2 separate regions of the Homo sapiens genome follow, and region 2 is linked to region 1. Evidence: promoter capture Hi-C in 16 types of primary human blood cells and fetal thymus (Javierre and others, 2016). All regions are on one chromosome and are shown on one strand. The core of a region is centred on a gene start or on the middle of the fragment in contact, and the rest is flanking DNA. Distances in the headings are between cores, read along the strand shown.

Evidence for each region. The method cuts DNA at HindIII sites, captures the fragments that hold promoters and counts their contacts. A CHiCAGO score of 5 or more calls a contact.
Region 2: a contact is called between a fragment that was not itself captured here and the fragment with the promoter of SLC35G2 in region 1, in 1 of 17 cell types (megakaryocytes). The highest score is 5.4, in megakaryocytes.

The regions. Positions count from the first base shown.
Region 1 is chr3:136,815,996-136,822,786 of GRCh38, reverse strand. SLC35G2 (solute carrier family 35 member G2) reads right to left here and starts at 3,661. Exons shown (of 2, transcript NM_025246.3): 1 at 3,159-3,661. RefSeq lists silencers at 2,464-2,513, 3,577-3,636. The HindIII fragment of the contact is 16,057 bases long and covers 1,865-6,791 here.
Region 2 is chr3:136,755,229-136,762,019 of GRCh38, reverse strand. STAG1-DT (STAG1 divergent transcript) reads right to left here. Exons shown (of 1, transcript NR_185911.1): 1 at 6,180-6,791. Among named protein-coding and RNA genes, the nearest start is that of STAG1-DT, 6.0 kb to the right of the region's middle. The HindIII fragment of the contact is 2,023 bases long and covers 1,536-3,558 here.

The DNA of each region.
Region 1 (6,791 bases), core at 2,412-4,911:
CTATTTAGGCATAAAAAAGAATGAGATCCTGTTATGTGCAACAACACAGATGGAACTGAAAGTCATCATGTTAAGTGAAATAAGCCAGGCACAGAAAGACAAACTTCACGTGTTTTCACTTATCTGTGGGATCTAAAAATCAAAAAAATTGAACTCATGGAGATAGAGAGTACGCTGGGCGCAGTGGCTCACGCCTGTAATCCCAGCACTTTGGGAGGCTGAGGCAGCCAGATCACCTGAGGTCAGGAGTTCGAGACCAGCTTGGCAAACGTGGTGAAACCCCATCTCTACTAAAAATACAAAAATTAGCTGGGTGTGGTGGCGGGCACCTGTAATCCTAGCTACTTGGGAGGCTAAGGCAGGAGAGTCACTTGAACCCAGAAGGCAGAGGTTGCAGTGAGCTGTGATCATGCCACTGCACTCCAGCTTCCAGCCTGGGCAACAAGAGCAAGACTCAATCTCAAAAAAAGAAAAAGAGTAGAAGGATGGTGGTTACCAGAGCTGGGAAGGGTAGTGAGAGAGAGTTGGGGGTGTGGGGAAAACTGGGGATGGTTAATGGATACAAAAAGTAGAAAGAATGAATAACACCTAGTATTTGATAGCACAAAAGGATGACTATAGTCAATAATAATTTAATGGTACATTTTAAAATCATTAGAAGAGTACAGCTGGATTGTTTATAAAAACAAAGGATAAATGCTCAAGGGGATGGATACCCCATTTACCATGATATGATTATTAAACATGTTGCATCCCTATATCAAAACATCTCATGTACCCCGTAAATATATATATACCTATGTACCAACAAAAATTAAAAATTAATATAAATAGAAATAAAAATGAAGTAGTCAAAGTCATAGAATCGAGGAGTAGAATGGTGGTTTCCAGGGACTGGAGGGCAGGGGAAAATCAGGAGTTATTAATCAACAGGCATAAAGTCTCAGTCAAGCAAGATGCATAAGCTCTAAAGATCTGCTATACAGCATTGCACCTATCAACAATACATATCAACAATAATGTATTATACACGTAAAATTTTGTTAAGAAGGCAGGCCCGGGTGCAGTGGCATACGCCTGTAATCCTGGCACTTTGGGAAGCCAAGGCAGGCAGATAACCTGAGGACAGGAGTTCAAGACCAGCCTGGCCAACATGGTAAAACCCTGTCTCTACTAAAAATATAAAAACTAGCTGGGTGCGGTGGCCAGCTACTCAAGAGGCTGAGGCAGGAGAATCCCTTGAACCCGGGAGGCAGAGGTTGCAGTGAGCGGAGAGCACGTCACTGCACTCCAGTCTGGGCAACAAGCAAGACAATGTCTCAAAAAAAAATTTTTTTTTTGTTCAGAGGATAGATCTCATGTTACATATTCTTTCCACAATAATTTTTTTAAGTCTAAAAAATTGGACATAAATGTTCATTATGGGATTGTTTAAAAAACTTACATTCTATCCACACAGATCAATATTATGCAACCCTTAATAATGATGACCTAGTTTTATGATGAAAGACATTAATTATAAATTATATAGCAAAAACGCAACCAATAGAGGATTGGTCCATTTAAAATGTATGCATGTTCATCTAAATGAAAATCTGTTTACAATGGTTTTCTATGTTTATGCATTTCTCTATTACCTAAAATTCTTATAATGAGCATATATTTTTTAAGGAAAAAACAATACCAATGTTTTTGAAAAATACAAATGTAAACTTTAAGAACTTCACACAAACCACATACCACCAATATATTTAAAATTGTCTGCATTATGATACATTTTAGTCATATGTTAAGATTATAAATTTCTATGATTATTTATATGTTGTTCTTATTAAAATTTACATTAATTCATTTTCCTTAAGCTTTCTTTAAGGAATTTTTTTGGTATCAATATCAATTTTACATCTTCCTAGACTTTTGTTCTGGAATGTAAATGAGTATAAATACTTAATTGCTCAGCCAAATACCAAACACTTCAATCCACAGGCTCTGTGCCTTTGGAACAGATGATTATGAAAATAAATGGCTCTGCAGAGTTCACATTTACTAGAAGTGTCAAAAAATAAAGATGGATTACAAAAGCTCTAAAAAATGTGTGGCTTGTAGTGTGTAATGGTTTTCAAAAGGGATGAGTGTATTTGCATGTGTGTTAGGTTTGTGCGTAAATGCACATACCTGTATCTTTCATAAGTATATGTGAGAATTCCTGTTTACGCTCATGGTGTGTACTTTCTCATAGGTAATAAAATCTGTTATGCATATGCTTATCTGTACCTCCAAGGCAAGCCACATTTGCTTTCGGGTTATGTTCAGGAAACCAGCCTCAACTTGTCTGAAAAGAGTTTCAGTGTTGGGCCTGCTCCACTCTGGCCACCAGCCATGGAGATGGGCTATTTTTGGCAAAGGTGCAGAGTAGAAGGGCAACGCAGGCCGCGGCCCAGGAAGTCAGTCGACGAGGGCGCGCGAGGCACTTCAGCACCACGGACATAGGCAAGCCTGAGCCAAGTCCTTTCCCGCGGAGGAAGATCGCTCCTCCGGAGCTACCCCCAGCCCTCTGGACCTACCCCCAGCCCTCTGGACCCACCCCCAGCACTCTGGACGTGGGGGGTTACTATCTCCAGGTCCTCGATCAACACTCGGACCCGAGCTTTCCGCCTCGCTCCTCGCGGAGCCGGGTGAAAGAAAACCTGGCCCGAGATGCAGGTCCGCGCTGAGCCTTCATCCGCCGCAACACGAGTCTCTTTCCTGCCGGCCCGCGCGACCCTTCTTCCCTCTCCTCCTCTCAAATGAGGCCAAATGGGTGCACGTGGCGTAGAAATTCTACAGCGCCCAGAGCACTGTGAGGAAAGATTCGCCTTTTCCTCCCCGTGGCTGCTGGAGGCTGTGCGGACTTGCCCTGAGCCTTCTCCGCCACTCTCGGCCGTGACGAGGCCCTTCCTCCACTAACCCTTGCCCTCGTCTTCCCTTGGGAAAAGATGTCTACAAACCGTCGATGTACCACGAAAATCTCAGCGCCCACAGACTGGCGTTCAAGAGTCATGGACATGAGACAAGAGAGTAATGGAAAATACAAATTCTTGGCCATATTTCTAAAATCATCCAGCCTTTTTTAAAACTTGTATTTGAAATTGATCCCATATGACGCCACAGTGACTCACCCCTTGCTTGGGTTGGCTACTGGGCGAGAGGAAAGCAACAGCCCCTGGCCTTCATCATGGACGCTGCAGGAGGGCCCAGACACGCGACAGCGGAAAGAAACGGGAAACCGGGCCGTAGCCGATGCTGGCCCTCCCGTCCCCGTGTCCCGGTTCTCCAGGAGGGCAGCACAGAGAAATGCGGGCCCCGCGGCCTTTCAGGCGTCGTGCAGAGCACCCCGAAGTCTGCAAAGCGGGCGGGGCGCGTCGCCCCCAGCCCGGCCCTTACCCAAAAAGACTGTTGTGCCCCTTAGGTGTGGCGGCTAAACGCGGGTGTGTGGAGTTCGGGGTCCGCTCTCATTCCCTTGTCGGGCGGCCGGGCAGGCAGGATCAAGGTCCCAGTCCGCCGCCGCCGACCGGCTCCCGGGGCCCGGTTACCTGCGTGTCGTGGCGAGGAAGGTGCCCCGGAGGCGACTGACGCGGGCGTGCCCTCGCCTGGGAAAATCGAGGCGGGCGCTGCCCGGAGTACTGCGGAGGGAGAGGGGCGCCGCCGCGCGGACTCTGCGCCTGCGCTCTCCGCCCTCCGCCGCCCCCACCCCACAACCTGACTGGCGCCGGAGTTGGAGACTGCGGGGGACGCTCAGGGTTGTGCCTGAACTGAAGGACTTCCTCTACCCGCGAGGTGGGAGGGTCCACGGGAAAGCGCCCGCCCGGGCCCCTCTAGCTTACGCCCTTGGAGGGCGCTTGTTTGAAGCAATTGCCTGTCTGCCAGGGCTACGTAGTCCGCTGCAAGTGGGCACGGAGGCAGTTTCTGTCCATTTCCACCCATTGTTTGCGCTTAAAAGTCGCAAGTCTATTCCTTCATGTTTAAATATGTGTCCAGCATCGGAAAATCGTGGTCCGGAAAAGTCTTCGGGCATCCCCGAGTCCACCCGCCATTTTACTGATAAGGTCTCTGAGGGAAGGGTCTTGACACTGCACAGCTGGTTCTTCTACCCAAGTGCATATGCCCCAGTCCCAAGTGGAATGAATATAGCCTCTTGGAAACAGACTGGTCATTAAAAGCAGTGGATTTGATGGGTCCAGGGGACAGGCAAGAAAGGGTAAGGGCTGAACCAAGGTGCTGGCTGTGGGAAAAAACAGGAGGTGCTTGCTGGTTTTTCCTCTGTCCCTTCAGACCCACTCTCCACTCTGCTCTGTGACTCAGGACTGACCTTTATGGGCTACGTCAACTATAATCTGGCTTTCAATTGGTTTTGGCAAGTGGGAGGCACCTGCAGATCAGAAGGCAGGATGTGATTCAGGACCTCCCCTGCATCCCCAGCGGGCCACCCTGTTAGCAGTGGCTATGTTCTTCATCTGAAAGCCATTACTCCCATCCTGTGGCCCTCTCCTGCAGTTTTCTCCAGGTTCTGGTTACCACTAACTACCCTTGCCCCTTCAGGCCTGGAGTGGGTAATGACGCCCAGAGGTTTCCTTTAACCCCATCCACACCTTTTTAAATAGTCCCTTCATTAAACTCTCCTCAACTATCCCATCTTTTCCCCACCTTTCCAGGACGCTATAATAGATTTTAGTCCATTGCGGTTGGCAAAATTCATGAGGACAAAAATATATGTAAAAGAAATACGGGGCTTTTAAAAGGCGAGAAGTCTTCCAGAGCCATCTTGACAGTTCCCTGGGCTCCAGGCAGCCAGCATGCTAGGTGGTCTCCCCACTGGGCCCCATAGCCCGAGGGTGCTAGTTTAGGTAGACCCAAGAATGGAATTCAGACTGCTCATAAACAGTGTGATCACCAAAGGGCTGGGGATCATTTCAGAGTCCAGCATAACAGGATTTTGGATTCCTCTTGAGGTAGAGAGACAATCTAGATCTTTATAGAGCAAGTGCTGGTGCTCTCCCAACTACAGCTGGGCTGCTTTTGAATGAGTCAATATTCTTAGGACACTTAAGAGAGTCCTGGAAACAGTGTCTGACAAGTGTGCTTAACAAGAAACTGCTGAGTGAGGCAATTGTCAATTGAGAGCCTCTGGCTGTTTCTGTAGAAAATCCAAGAATGTTCCCAAAGAGGGGGAAAAAGGCAAGAGGGTAGGAAGTCATTAAATTGCCTCTAGCACACTATGGTGTGCTTGGTCTGAATCCAAAATTTGACCATTTCTCGGGCTTGTAAAAACAACCAAACTGATTTGACTACTTTGATTCCTTCCCCATCCCCTTGAAAAACAAAACAAAAACAAAATAAACAAAAAACCCACCAATGCAGTATCTTAGCAAGACTTACCCAAAGGGACCCCCAGCTGTAGCTATTTGCAAATAAAATTAATGTCCAAGCAAACACACTATTTGTACTGAATACAAATGAGACCAGAACAGAACATTTAACATGTAAATATTTCCAAACTTTCACCCTTCCAAAGAGAAAGGATCATTTGTTGTTCAGACATGCATTAATTGTGCTGATCTCAATAAGGAATAGAGGTAAAGAAGCAAAAGGAGCCTCAGAAGGCTCGGCTGATCTGCAAGGCTCAGATTTTTTGTTTTGGAGAAGGTGGGATGGGGTGGGGATAAGGAAGGCGACCAGCAAAGTTTGAGTAAGGGAGTAAGAAAAAAAGACCTGGAATGAGCTGACTAGGAGAGATGGTTTCTGGGAGTTTTGAGAGAGTGAGACTAGGGATTTAGCACAGCTGACATTCTGAGTGACACCAAGGTATAGAAAGATATGAAAGAGGATTTTTAGACATTTTGTGATGTTTAATAAATGGAATTATTTTGTGCTATGATACATAGGGCTTTTCCTTACAAGTGTCAAAAACTTAAACTCAGACTGATTTAAGAAAAGGAGTATATTTGGCTTAATAACTGAAAAATCCATAGATAGGTAACTTCAGATATGACTAGATTCACGAATGCAAACATTGACATCAGGACATGATCTCTCCTTTCCTCTTTGTTGACATCAAAGAGTTTGTTTTCACATAGTGATTTCTTGCCACCTCCCCACCTTTCCCCAGTGTTCAACTTATATCATCTTTATAGCTAACCATTCCAAAAGAAGCAGAGCACTTATTTCCCAGTAGTTCCAATAAAATATTGAGCTTATGTTTCATTAGCAAACTCATATACCTTAATCTAGAGACAGGGCCAGGCGCAGTAGCTCATGCCTGTAATCCTAGCACTTTGGGAGGCCAAGGCAGGCGGATCACCTGAGGTCAGGAGTTCGAGACCAGCCTGACCAACATGGAGAAACCCGTCTCTATTAAAAATACAAAATTATGGCTGGGTGCAGTGCCTCACGCCTGTAATCCTAGCACTTTGGGAGGCCAAGGCGGGCGGATCATGAGGTCAAGAGATCGAGACCATCCTGGCTAACATGGTGAAACCCCATCTCTACTAAAAAATCCAAAAAAATTAGCCAGGCATGGTGGCGGGCGCCTGTAGTCCCAGCTACTCAGGAGGCTGAGGCAGGAGACCGGCGTGAACCCAGAAGGTGGAGCTTGCAGTGAGCCGAGATCACACCACTGCACTCCAGCCTGGATGACAGAGCGAGACTCCGTCTCAAAAAAAAAAAAAATTTAGCCAGATGTGGTGCCACATACCTGTAATCCCAGCTACTCAGGAGGCAGAGGCATGAGAATCGCTTGAACCCAGGAGGCGGAG
Region 2 (6,791 bases), core at 1,298-3,797, 60 kb after region 1:
CAAATGTTCTTCAGGGGTATGTACCAGGGGGCAAAAGAGAGAGCATCTCTGTAAATGGAAAAACTTGATATGATAAATTAGATAAAATATTCAGGAGGCAAAAGGGTAATTTAAAACTCCAGGAAAAACAAAGCCATACAAGTTTGCTTTTTTGTTTTTGTTTTTTTGAGACGCAGTCTTGCTCTTGTCACCCAGGCTGGAGTGCAACAGTGCGATCTCAGCTCACTGCAACCTCCGCCTCCTGGGTTCAAGTGATTGTCCTGCCTCAGCCTCCTGAATAGCTGGGATTACAGGCACCTGCCACCACGCTCAGCTAATTTTTGTATTTTTAGTAGAGACGGGGAAGTTTGCTCTCTGTTGTTGTTGTTTTGTTTTGTTTTTGAGATGGCGTCTGTCACCCAGGCTGAAGCACAGTTGTGCTATCATGGCTTACTGCAGCCTTGAATTCCCAGGCTCAGGAGATCCTCCCATCTTAGCCTCCTGAGTACCTGCGACTACAGGTGTGTGCCACCATGCCCAGCTAATTTTTTGTATTTTATTTTTGGAGAACCAGGATTTCACCATGTTTTCCAGGCTGGTCTTGAACTCTCAGGCTCAAGTGATCTGCTACCTCGGCCTCCCAAAGTGCTAGGATTACAGGCGTGAGCCACTCTGCCCAGCCCGTTTGTGATCTAAATATGAAGCAAAGATATTTGGGCAATTGTTAATAAGGGAAGATAATCCATTTGATCCTGATGCTTTCTATATTTTCCTTTGAGTGGTTTTCTAGTGGTTTTCACGGTGGTTCAGTGGTTCTGTAAAAGAGAAGATGTAATCCTAGCACACTCCTTAGTCTGGAAGTTGGCTATTAACTGTGTCAACCTATGGACAAAACACAAAAGACTTCTTGTGTTTAAGGGAGGTGAGAAAAAGGTGTGAAGGAAGAATGGTGGTGTTAATAGTGGAGAGTTGTAATACTACCTAAAGTTGAAATGTTATCTAGTGTTTTATCTTGTATTATTCAGAGTTACAAAGAAGCGTGGTGGCTCATGCCTGTAATACCACCACTTTGGGAGGCTGAGGCAGGCAGACCACCTGAGGTCAGTTTGAGAGAAGCCTGACCAACATGGTGAAACCCCGTCTTCACTAAAAATATAAAAATTAGCTGGGCATGGTGGCCCACACCTGTAATCTCAGTTACTCAGGAGGCTGAGGCAGGAGAATTGCTTGAACCTGGGAGGAAGAAGTTGCAGTGAGCCAAGATCATGCCACTGTACTCCAGCCTGGGCAACAGAGGGAGACCGTGTCTCCAAAAAGGAAAAAAAAAAAAAAAGTTACAAAGAAAACCAACAAAAGACGCAAACTTAATGCAACTGTTAAATATTGGACCAGTGGGTATTAACATAATCTTTATCCTTTGTAGCAGGGAGTCATTAGATTTTATTTAAAGTTGAATGAGCATATTTAGAAATATTGAAGTAATTCCAAACAAACAAAAACATGTAAAAGATGTTGTCCTTGGGCAGTGGCCCTGGCGGTAGAGTTAGGATGAAGCTTGGTTGCTTTTCAACGTTATGTTTTTTTGTCCTGTTTGATATGTTACAATTTATTTTGTATCCTTTAATTTGTTGCCATTGTGCATTTCTTTTACAGAAAATAAAATTAGAGGCTGGTTTTTCTGCCTATATGGAAACAATGTTTTAGATAGCTATTCTATCAAGAATGATTCCCAGGCCGGGGTGCAGTGGCTCACGCCTCTAATCCCAACACTTTGGGAGGCCGACGCCAGCAGATCACCTGAGGTTAGGAGTTTGAGACCAGCCTGGCCAATATGGTGAAACCCTGTCTCTACTAAACATACAAAAATTAGCTGGGTGTGGTTGTGTGCACCTGTAATGCTAGCTACTTGGGAGGCTGAGACAGGATAATCGCTTGAACCCGGGAGGCGGAGGTTGCAGTGAGCCAAGATCATGCCACTGCACTCCAGTTTGGGTAACACAGCAAGATTCCGACTTTAAAAAAAAAAAAAAAAGGATGATTCCTCAAAGTAGTCCAGGCCTCATACAGGTCTTTTGAAATAAGCCATAAAGTGGAATCCCAAGGACATCAAGAAACTTGGACTAAGAAAACGGTTGTTCTACTGGCACTTGAGTCTCTAAATAATAATAACTCTTAGCTCCTACCCACACTAGTTCCAGCCCTCTGCCTGTGAGTTTTTTTTTTTTTTTTTTTTGAGATGGAGTCTCGCTCTGTCACCCAGCCCGGAGTGCAGTGGCATGATCTCGGCTCACTGCAAGCTCCGCCTCCCGGGTTCACACCATTCTCCTGCCTCAGCCTCCCAAGTATTTGGGACTACAGGAGCCTGCCACCACGCCCAGCTAATTTTTTGTATTTTTAGTGGAGACGGGGTTTCACCGTGTTAGCCAGGACGGTCTCGATCTCCTGACCTTGTGATCCGCACCGCCTTGGCCTCTCAAAGTTCTGGGTAAGGATTACAGGCGTGAGCCACCGCGCCTGGCCAAAATTTCTTTTTAAAAAAATATCTGAGCAATTCCGATCCTCTGCTTTTTGAGAATAGAGTTTTGCCTATAACCAGGTTACTGATTCTGAAAGGGAAGGTATTCTGGATCCCTCTTACCATCTTATTACCAAGAACGGGGCAGAATTTATTGATTTAGTTATACATCTGTCTGTCTGCCTATCTGAGAAAGGGTCTTGCTGTGTCACCCAGGCTGGAGTGCAGTGGCATGATCATGGCTCACTTAAGTGATCCTCCCATCTCAGTCTCACAAGTAGCTGGGACTACAGGTGTGCGCCATCCTGCCCAGCTAATTTTTTATTTTTTATACAGATGGGGTCTCCCTATGTTGCCCAGATTGGTCTTGAACTTCTGGCCTCAAAAGATCTGACTGCCTCAACCTCCTAAAGTGCTGTGATTACAGGTGTGAGTCACTGGGCCTGGCTGCTTGCTCAGTTGTAGAAAGAATAGTGTTTTTAGGCTGGGCGCGGTGGCTCACGCCTGTAATTCAAGCACTTTGGGAGGCCGAGGCAGGCGGATCACCTAAGGTCAGGAGTTTGAGACCAGCCTGGCCAACATGGTGAAGCCCTGTCTCTACTAAAAATACAAAAATTAGCCGGGCATGGTGGCAGTCACCTGTAATCTCAGCTATTCGGGAGGCTGAAGCAGGAGAACTGCTTGAACCCAGGAGGCGGAGGTTGCAGTTTGCTGAGATCGCGCCATTGCACTCCAGCATGGGCAATAGAGTGAGACTCTGTCTCCAAAAAGAAAAAAAATTAAAAAAAAAAAGGAAAAATAATGGTTTAAATCCAGTAGGGAGGACACCATGGCATATTACTGCCACCAATTGGCAGCACACCTTAATTGCAAGAGTAGAAAAGAAGGGAAAATTATTTCTGATAATTGCAAAGGTCTACCAACGTAAGAAAGAACAAATGCCTTGTGACCAAGTGAAAAATGCAAAGGAATACTTGATTTGGGGGAGATTAAGATGAGACAGTGGTCATGATCCCTGAAACACAGGGTTTGTGGAGGTGGTAAAAATGAAGGGTGAGGAAGCTTGATCAGAAGACCTCTCTTTGCTCTAGATATCGAGCAGTTGCACTTGGAACTCTGAAAAAGGGGAAGGAAAGGGAAGAATGACGAATCAAATTTTACTTTTCTTTTTTTTTTTGAGACGGAGTCTCACTCTGTCAGCCAGGCTGGAATGCAGTGGCGCAATCTTGGCTCACTGCAATCTCTGCCTCATGGGTTTAACCGATTCTCTTGCCACCTGCCTCAGCCCCTCGAGTAGCTGGGATTACAGGTGTGCGCCACCACGCCCGGCTAATTTTTGTGTTTTAGTAGAGATGGGGTTTCACCATGTTGGCCAGGCTGGTCTCAAACTCCTGGCCTCAAGTGATCTGCCCACCTTGCCCTCCCAAAGTGCTGGGATTACAGGCATGAGCCACCGCGCCCGGCCCAAATTTTACTTTAAAAATCCTTTCTGTGTAAGAAATATCACCATTATCCTCACGCAAAAAAAGTTGATTTAATGTGTCTTACTCTAACTGTAAGGCCAATAGAATAACTGAAATCTTTTGTGTGCTAAAATTATCCAGAGAGAAAAAGACATAAGTCTGGCCCAAATTTTAAAGAAACTGTGCAATCTACACAATCAGAAACTCATTCTTTGGGTTATAAAGCAAAGTTCTTCATGTTATTGGTTAATAAATGTTAATTAGAACTAATGCATTTTCAGAAACACAATTTGGTATATTTGCAAGGAAAACAAGAAAAGCAATCTAAAGCTCCCAGTAAAACAACACTATATAAAAATCTTTTAAACTATTGCAACCCCTGTTCAATGTCTTCCCATTTCATAGGCTATAGAATGCATTTTTTTTTCTATTTATAACATTAAATATCTACTTTTGGACCAGGTTGGCTAAGAGATTGAGTTGAATTAAAGTTCTGATGGGCATGTGTCTGAAGAATTACATTATTTTTCATATCGTAGGGGTGAAGGGAAAACTTTTATATGTAATAACAAAGGGAAGTTTTCCCTCTGCTGAAGGTTTGCTGAAAAATTAACTGACGACAGTCACATTAGGCTGGGCGCAGTGGCTCACACCTGTAATCTCAGCATCTTGGGAGGCCAAGTTAGGGAGAATTGCTTGAGTCCAGGAGTTTGAGACCAGCATGGACAACACAGTGAGACCTCATCTCTACAAAGATTTTTTTTTTTTTTAGTTAGTGGGCATGGTGGTGTGTGCCTGTAGTCCCAGCTACTTGGGAAGCTGAGGCGGATCGCTTGAGCCCAGGACTTTTAGGCTTCAGTGAGCTGTGATAGTGCCACTGTACTCTAGTCTGGGTGGCAGAGTGAGATCCTGTTTCAGAAACACCAAACTTTTTAAATTAACGTGTGTGTGTGAATAATCCAGAGTGATTACCTATTATTTAGTGTGGTAAAGAAACTTATATACCCTTTTTCATAAGGGAAGGGGGAGATGGAGAATGTAGAAATTCTTTTGAGTGACAGCAAGTCATTAGGGAGAACAAATGGACCTTGGAGGTGGAAGGCAGACATTAATGGGAAGGTGAGGTGTAGAGCTGCACAGGAACAAAGATTGTCTTATTATGCAGAGAAAGTCCTCCAGGTAATCCCTTGGGGCTGCCCTCAGAAGAACAGATGAAAAGTCTGTCAGGTCATAGTGACTGTCAATCTATTCTCTAGTGGTTGATATTTCCTGGTTGTTTGATGAGATTACTAGGGAGGGAGTTTTACAACATTGCATTTCTTCTTTTTATTTATTTGTTTTTTTTTTTAGACAGAGTCTCGTTCTGTCACCCAGGCTGCAGTACAGTGGTGCAATCTCAGCTCACTGCAACCTCCGCCTCCCAGGTTCAAGCTATTCCCCTGCCTCAGCCTCCCCAGTAGCTGGGACTACACGCATGCGCCACCATGCTCAACTAATTTTTGTTTTTTTAGTAGAAACAGGGTTTCACCATGTTGGCCAGGCAGGTCTCAAACTCCTGACCCCGGGTGATCCATCTGCCTCGGCCTCCCAAAATGCTAGGATTACAGGCATGAGCCACCATGCCCTGCCCTGCCAACATTGCCTTTCTTTTGGAAAAAAGCTTTCTTGGTCAGATAAGGAAATTCCAAAGAGAGTGTACCCTTGGTGCTTCGGGAAAGAGGATCAGGGAGACAGGGAAAGGTAAGAGACAGACCTTGGTTCTGAGGCCGTTCAATTTTCAAAGCATTGAGCATGCTGAAGTGCTGTATTTTGGGGAATCGTTTTACTGTGCCTCAATAATATTTTGATCATATGTATGACTTGAAGCTGTTAATAAAAATTGTGATGTTTGAAAATCCTTGCCAAGAGAATTGGAATCTTGATTAAGAATTTCATTGGCCAGGCGCAGTGGCTCACGCCTGTGATCCCAGCACTTTGGGAGGCCGAGGTGGGCTGATCACCTGAGGTCGGGAGTTGAGACCAGCCCGGGCAACGTGGTGAAACCCCGTCTCTACTAAAAATATAAAATTAGTTGGGCGTGGTGGAGTATGCCTGTAATCCCAGCTAGTCTGGAGCCTGAGGCAGGAGAATCGCTTGAACCTGGAGGCCGCGGTGAGCCAAGATCGCGCCATTGCACTCCAGCCTGGGCAACAAGATCAAAACTCTGTCCAGGGAGGGTGGGGGTGGGGAAGAATTTCTTAAAAGCAGCCTCTGCTTTTATGTGTAATTCTGTAACAAAGTCAACATGTTATGGGACCTTTATTACTTTATCTTACCAGATAGGTAAAGGATGAATAAATCTGCCCTTCACTTACATTTATGATTAATCAGACAGGTCAGCTAGTGTGAATAATTTCTAATGAAATAGAGAAAAAAATGAAAAAATATCAAGGCATGCCTTGAATGTCATTAACTATTTTAGATGATATCTTTTAAGCCATAGGAATCACAGAACGCTTTTGTGTAGGTATAACAATGTTGCATTTTAAAAAGAGAAGTGAAGCAGGAGTGGGGAGTAGAGGGAAGGTGGGTCAATGGCACCTACTTCTGGACCTAGCAAGGCTGAGGTGTGAGAATCACTTGAGCCCAAGTCAGAGGTTGCAGTGAGCTATGACTGCACCACTGCCCTCCAGCCTGGGCAACACGGCAAGACCCTGTCTCAAAAACAAACAAACAAACACAAACAAAAGGGAGGTGAATGAAGGGAGAGGTGTTTACAAGGCTAGTGCAATAGTTTTGGTGTAAGGCAATGGGAGGGGAGAAGGGTTTGAATAAGGATGGCAGCAGTAGAAAAA